Regions from separate parts of the Homo sapiens genome. Here region 2 is linked to region 1. Evidence: promoter capture Hi-C in 16 types of primary human blood cells and fetal thymus (Javierre and others, 2016). All regions are on one chromosome and are shown on one strand. Each heading gives the region's core, a stretch centred on a gene start or on the middle of the fragment in contact. The rest is flanking DNA. Distances are from core to core; before and after follow the strand shown.

What was found. Contacts are between HindIII fragments. The CHiCAGO score rates a contact against its expected background, and 5 or more counts as called.
Region 2: a fragment that was not itself captured here is called in contact with the fragment with the promoter of OR2AG2 in region 1 in 1 of 17 cell types (M0 macrophages); the score reaches 5.6 in M0 macrophages.

What each region holds. Positions count from the first base shown.
Region 1 is chr11:6,770,179-6,773,562 of GRCh38, reverse strand. OR2AG2 (olfactory receptor family 2 subfamily AG member 2) reads left to right here and starts at 1,587. Exons shown (of 2, transcript NM_001004490.2): 1 at 1,587-1,941. The HindIII fragment of the contact is 9,473 bases long and covers 1-3,384 here.
Region 2 is chr11:7,692,372-7,695,755 of GRCh38, reverse strand. OVCH2 (ovochymase 2) reads left to right here. Exons shown (of 16, transcript NM_198185.7): 11 at 46-186; 12 at 568-698. It overlaps LOC105376533 (a long non-coding RNA gene), which reads right to left. Exons shown (of 11, transcript XR_007062576.1): 4 at 3,203-3,384. Among named protein-coding and RNA genes, the nearest start is that of OVCH2, 12 kb to the left of the region's middle. The HindIII fragment of the contact is 2,809 bases long and covers 238-3,046 here.

The DNA of each region.
Region 1 (3,384 bases), core at 338-2,837:
AAAGGAGCCTAAAAATTAATCAACTTTAGATAGTTCTTTAGGATGTTAGTCCACCATCTTCTCAGTTTGCTGGCTTTCTGAAATAAAGTTGTCTTCCTTGCCCCAACACCTTTTCTCTCCACTTATTGGCTGTCGTGTGGCAAGTAGTAGAAGATTTGGACTCGACCACATTTAGCAGTCCAGCTCTCTGCCTCCTTTCACTATAACTATTAACGCAAATTTCATGTCCATCATTTTCTTTCTTCATTTATATGTAGTTTTATTGAATGTACACATATTTATAGGAAGTTTATTTTCACTTAAGTTCTTAACACTGCAAAAGAAGTACCACGATATATAATCCTAAGGTGTCTCTTGCTTCCCTTAATATTAGTTTCCTAAGTTGCTTTTTTTGTTGTATGCTCTGGTTCCTTTGTTTAGATTCCTACATAGTAACCCTTTGGTGCATATCTATCTATTCCACTGTTGATGGGCATAAAGGTCGTTTCTAATTTTTATTGTACTGTGAATAATGCTGCTCTTATAATTTACATGTTTAAAACCGTCTTTTCAGTACATTCCTTTTATAATTAAAAAATAAAAAGATTTTTATATTAGTTCTTCTGTTGCACTTCTGAAATAATTTTGAGTATATATTTTATATAAACAGAAAGTGGAAACTTATTTTTATTTTTTTTAAGTTCAAAGAGAAAAGATATGATAACTCCGGAAGAAATTTTCAGCATTTCCTGGTGAAATGGCTGATTAAAGAGATACTAAAGAATGAGGAAGATTAAGCACAGAATTGGGTGAGAGATGGGAAAGCCTGAACTAAAAGCAGAAGTGAGTGCAAGCAGGTGCTGTGTCATCATCCCAAAGCTCTGAGCAGCTCAGCTGACTGATCACAGAATATGTAGGCCCATGAACAAATGAACACACACAAGAGGGAGTAGAAAGGAGAAACAAAGAACTGAAAAATAAATTAGTGCTGGATCCTCATTAAAGCTCAGTGAAGGAAGACCTGATATTAACAGAAGCATAGTTAACTCCCTCTAGTTGGTAATAGCCCAGGCTAGTGGCACAAAGAGGGATATGTGAGTGGCAGCATCTATAGAACCCATGAGACAGACTTTATATTTTGGACAGAGGGCTGGACAGGGAGGTGTTGCTTTTCAGATTGGTTACTGACACTATCTATTTTGTCAGAAACAGCCTCTGTCTGGTTTTCCGGTCAGTGATTTCTAGGTTAAAATTATAGTTTTGGTTTTGTAAGGCAGGAGAAAGATCTTAGACTCCAATGAGTGGTGAGACACAGCAAGCCCATGGCGGGCAGAACAAGGCCTCAAGGTTCAGAGCTCATTTGGTGGTAAAGTTTGAAGAAATGGCAGGCCAGGAGACATGCCCAAGGGGATTTATTAAAATCCCATTTCCTGGAGCAATATTTTCAGGGGAGGTCATGTCAGCTGAGAGGGTGAGACTATGAACCCTCCCCCAGGACAGGCCTCACTGTTGGCGCAGAGACAGTAAGGCTGGGCATTGGTGGGTCTCTTTTAAGCAGCTCTTCTTATACCTCTTTTCTCACATTCCTGCTGTGCTCCTCTTTTATCATGAAACACAGCATGAGGGGAATATATGAAATCTGAGGACCTGGACTTAAGAACTCAGCTAGAACCATTCCAAAGCAGTAAGGACTTTCTCGCAAGGACAGTGAATGAGAGAACTTTGGAAGAGATTCAGCTCCTCACTTCTGCAGGATCCTGCCCTAGGTTCTCAGCTGCCTGTCTGCATCTATCTCTACTTCCAGAGAGGACTTGCAGTGCCAGTGACTGGAGGAGCCTTTGATCTCTGATCCTAGAGACAGCCATACACACACCTACATTCATCCTGGCCAGAAGAAGCAACTTTTCTTTCTTTGGCTTCTTGAACCTCTTTACCTGGAAGCTATGCCCCTTCCCATATGAGGTAAGGGCTCTGTCTCCGTTTCAAGGCAATATGGGAAGTCTGGAAGTCCTGAGAAACAGGGTCAAGACCTTACACTGCTCTCCTTCTCAGATTCTCTAGTTCCTCAGGCTTTATGATTCACTCACTCCCATCTATATCTTATCAACCTTGTACATGTACCCATCTTGCACATGTAGGAACAACCAAAATAATTCTATGCCATTGGCCAGCCGTGAGTTCCTAGAATTCCTGATGATGGCCTCCTGGTAAAAGTCTCAGTACTTACCTTTGTTACATCTAGATTTTCCTGGCCTCCAGTAGTTTGATGTGAGTCCCCAAATGAATAGTACCTCAAAGGAGGACTATCTAAAATATGCTGAAGTGCCTTTCCCCTGCAGGACTGCTTGGCGCTAAGTCCAGTGCCACACAAAAAGCCAAATGAAGTAAATACAAAAAATAAATATACTGAGCAGAGATGAAAAAGAAAAACTTATAAAATATACTTCCAAAAATTTAGCTCTACCTTGTTAATTGACTGACCATTTTCCATAAACTATAGCAATGCCTCTTAATATCAGCCTCTGCTGACTTCTCTTGGTTTGAAATACCCGCAACCACCAGCAGTTTTCCAGAATGAAGCTCTTCCTCTGTAGGCCCAGTGTGTGTTCTCTGGCCTTTCCCTTTAGATGACCCCAGAGAGAACTCAGTAAATGGAAAGAAGGGAAAACAATAGTCCCGTATCAGAGGGAGGAGGTAGGTATGTAGGATCCTGAGTCCTGGTTACACCACCTTACCCAAGCCCTGATTTTTCTTCTCTTTGAAATCCTGTCCAAACATCTGGTGCAGGAAGCTAGAAGAATGTGCCCAGCTAATTATGTTCCTCCTTTTATTTACCTGTCCATTCATCTTTTTATTCAAGAAAAATGAAGGCATTTCAAATCTAATATTTAGCAGAAATAGTGCTTAGAATTGACTTTGGACTTGTGTTTTTGTTGTCAACAGACAAATAAGGTTTTCCGGTCAGTGGGTCAGTGGTTCCTAGGTTAAAATTATAGTTTTGATTTTGTAAGGCAGGAGAAAATTCTTAGACTACATTGCGTGGTGAAACACAGTTTTATACAGGGTATTTTTCTGGGGGTTTCTTGTCCAGACTTCACTGGGCAAAAGTGCAAGGAGGACATTCATGTACTGTATTTTAAGGTTCTGACTTTCACGGTACCATCCCTCACTTTTTTTTTTTTAATTATATCCTGACCCATTTTGATTTAGCCACCTCCTATTTATCCTCAGCCTTTAGTCTGTATACCACTTCCTTGGTGAATCCTTTCCTGAAAACTCACTTATATGTTCTCCTAGTGTATTTTCTTTCATGTATTTTTTTTTCACTGGATGTATGTAGGTGTTTGTGGGATCGATTTTTCACATCTACACAGTTGCCCAAGTGCAGTGCCTGAGATATCATAG
Region 2 (3,384 bases), core at 393-2,892, 920 kb before region 1:
ATTTTCTAGATTCTGAACAAAGAATCCTTTTTTCTCATCCTGCAGGAAAATTTTGTGGAGAAAGCCTCCCTTCATCCATTCTTATTGGCTCTAATTCTCTAAGGCTGAAATTCGTCTCTGATGCCACAGATAATGCAGCTGGGTTTAATCTTACCTATAAAGCTCTTAAACCAAACTACATTCCTGGTAAAACCATTTACTTTTAATCACATACTATCTCCACCTTCTGTAGAAGCTTAGGCCCCATAGGAATTAGGTGAGTGGCAGGGATCCCTCTCCCAAGGCCCAACTGACTCCACATGGGAGAGGGGCACAGGCCAACTAGAGAACAGGGGGCAGTCTCCCCCTCAACCCTGAGTTCACCCTGCTAGCTCGTAGTGATTGCCCCTCCAAGTGAGTCGAGAGGGCCTGATGAGTTCTGGAGAATCATGCACTACGTCTTTTCTTGTTCGCAGTGTCTGAAAATGCAATTGATATGCATCATTTTCAGGAGACAGGAGGGAGAGCAGTGAGAATTCTTCTTTATTTGAATGGTGCCATCTGTTTGGACTTTTTCTTACGTTTCAGATTCAGGTTGCAGTTACTTAACTGTCCTTTTTGAAGAAGGTCTCATACAGAGTCTAAACTATCCTGAAAACTACAGTGACAAGGCTAACTGTGACTGGATTTTTCAAGCCTCCAAACATCACCTAATTAAGGTATTGACTTTGGCTGTCCTTACGTAGCTATGGTAAATTCACAGAATAGCTAACATAAGCACCATGAGGTCAGAGGTTTTATCTGATTTATTCACTGCTGTGTTTTCAGTACCTAGAACCCAGCACCTGACACACAAAGCTGTCAATAAATACTTGCTGAATAATGGATCCGCCCAGTTTCCCCTGCAACTACACATTTTTTCCACTAGATGGCACTGTGCTCCTTACTTTAAAAAAAAAAAAAAAAAAAAAAAGTGCCGCTTTAATCTTTGTATTGAATTAGCCGGGCGCGGTGGCGGGCGCCTGTAATCCCAGCTACTCGGGAGGCTGGAGAATTGCTTGAACCCGGGAGATGGAGGTTGCAATGAGCCGAGATCGCGCCACTGCACTCCAGCCTGGGCTACAAGAGCGAAACTCTCAAAACACAAAACAAAACAAAACAAAACAAAAACTTTGTGTTGGTGACTTTTAGTCCATTCCAGAAACAAGCATGTCTTCCTTATTTATTAAACTGCTCACAAAACACATTGTAAGTTATAGATAACAAAATCAAGGTCAATCAGGCCAAAATCATCAAGCCTTTCAAGCAGAGAGGACAGAGCAAGCCTAGAGGAACCAGCGCAGAACAGGCTCAGGGAATCGCTGGTTTAAGAGGGTCTTAAGGTGTCCTGGAGTGGACAGTGGAAGGCAAGGTGGAAGTCACTGTATGGAGGCCTTTGAACGCCTGGAAATGGAGTTTATTCCACATTTGATTAGCAGTGTGTGGTTAGTTGTTTGTTCATTAAACACTAATGGACCATCTGCAGAGAGATATCATCAGGGAGGTAGAAGTAGGACTGCAGTCAGGGTGAGATTGGAATGAGGCATTTTCTCATAGATCTTTCTTTTAAAATAATAATTGAAAACAAGACAGTGTACGATGGAGAGAAAAGAGAGCAGAAAATAAAGGGGAGAGGAGTGAGGGATGATGAGACACCAGCGTTCTCACTTAAGAGATGGAAAGAACTCTGAGATGTGGGAGGAGAACCAAATTGGTGTGTTTTTATGACAGCCTGGAGAATGCAGCCTTTAACTTAAAACACAAACAAAACCAAAGAAAAAGATGTGACCAATCATTTGGATACCACACTAAGTTAGAACTTAAAGAGATGAGAACTGAGGTGTCCAGTCCCCACCCCACACCTCCATAAAAAAGGGAGAATAATTAGATGGGAAATTGAACAATTGAGAGGAGTTGGGATTGGTGGTATCTGAAATATCACGTGAAGTCAGATGTTAATGGCAGAAACAAGATCACACAGGTTTTATGAATGAGTGGGAAAAGATGATACAGAGGCAGTTGGTATAGATTTCTTTCTAAAAGTTCATCAAACCTAAACAGATTTGGGGCAAAAATTTCAGCAGAATTAAGGAAAATTTGTTAGTGGTGGAGGATAAAATTTAGGTTGTGAGCATGTTTCCAGGTGGAGGAAGAAGAGGAAATTTAGTTGAAAATCTGAAAATGCCAGAGCCAGAAGTGATTGAAAAATATCTCTTCAATAAGTAAAGTTTGAGTGTCGTGCATCAGTGAAGCGATGCTCTCATACTCTGCCAGTGACAGCATCATTTTGCAGAACTCGTGTAAGATAGTAATTTGGAAACTGGTGTTAAAAGTCATAGGAATATGCTCACCATTTGACTTGGAGAGAAAAGGGCCCCTTCCCAGAAAGTATCCCAGTAAGGGTTTAATAAATGTTTGAATGAATCCTATTTCTGATACAGGTCCCCCTCCCCACGCCTACCTTTACCATTAGTAATTATTTGCCTCCAGTTTTGTTTTATCCACACAATCCTTTCTGTTTCTTGCTCAGAGTCTGGGTCCCATTGAATCCCCATCAACTGTGTGTTAAAATTAGAGTTCCTATTTCATCAGCCCTCTCTCCCACCACTCTTCACTTCAAATTCAATTGGCTAGTGCTCACCAAACTGCTCCAAGATCACTCTTTATTGTTTCTTTGTTTCTCCTTCACACTGTTCCTTCTATCTAGATAGTTCCCCTCCCTTTTCCTGAAACAAAACAAGTGCCCCATGCAGGGAATGATACAAGAGAAGAAAAAAAGTAAATGCCTAAAGATATTCACTGCCAAGTTTTTAAGATAGCAAAAAATACAGGTCTCAAGGATAGAGATAAATGAAATATTATGCTGCCAATAAGCATCACAATTATAGAAACTATGAGAAAAGGTTTGTCATGATTTATTCTTGGTGACCCTAGGTTGATTCCAGGTGATCAACTTTCTTTTCTAGGTCATTACTCATCATAGCTTAATAATCTACTCAAGAATTTTGCTGAGGTTTACATTTAAGCTTAGTATCCAAAATCAGCTCTCTCTAACTCATACAAGGATTTCCTTTTTCATGCACATTCATGAGGCTCACTACATTTGACTCCGAGCCCACTTATGCAAATGCTTTCAGTAGCTCAGATGATACTTTGTTTTATATCAGCAATTAGACTCACTTACATCTGTGCCTTCTCAGAATTTTGCAGTGAGGCATGGAAATATAGTGGCAACAGGACAAAGCAGGTGAGAAGAGGAGCCAGCTATATCCCGCTGGGTAGAAAGACACGGTCTCCAAGGGGCACAACAAATTTCAGTCTTGATTCAGGAGAACTAGAGGTTCAAGATGAAACATCAGGAACCAG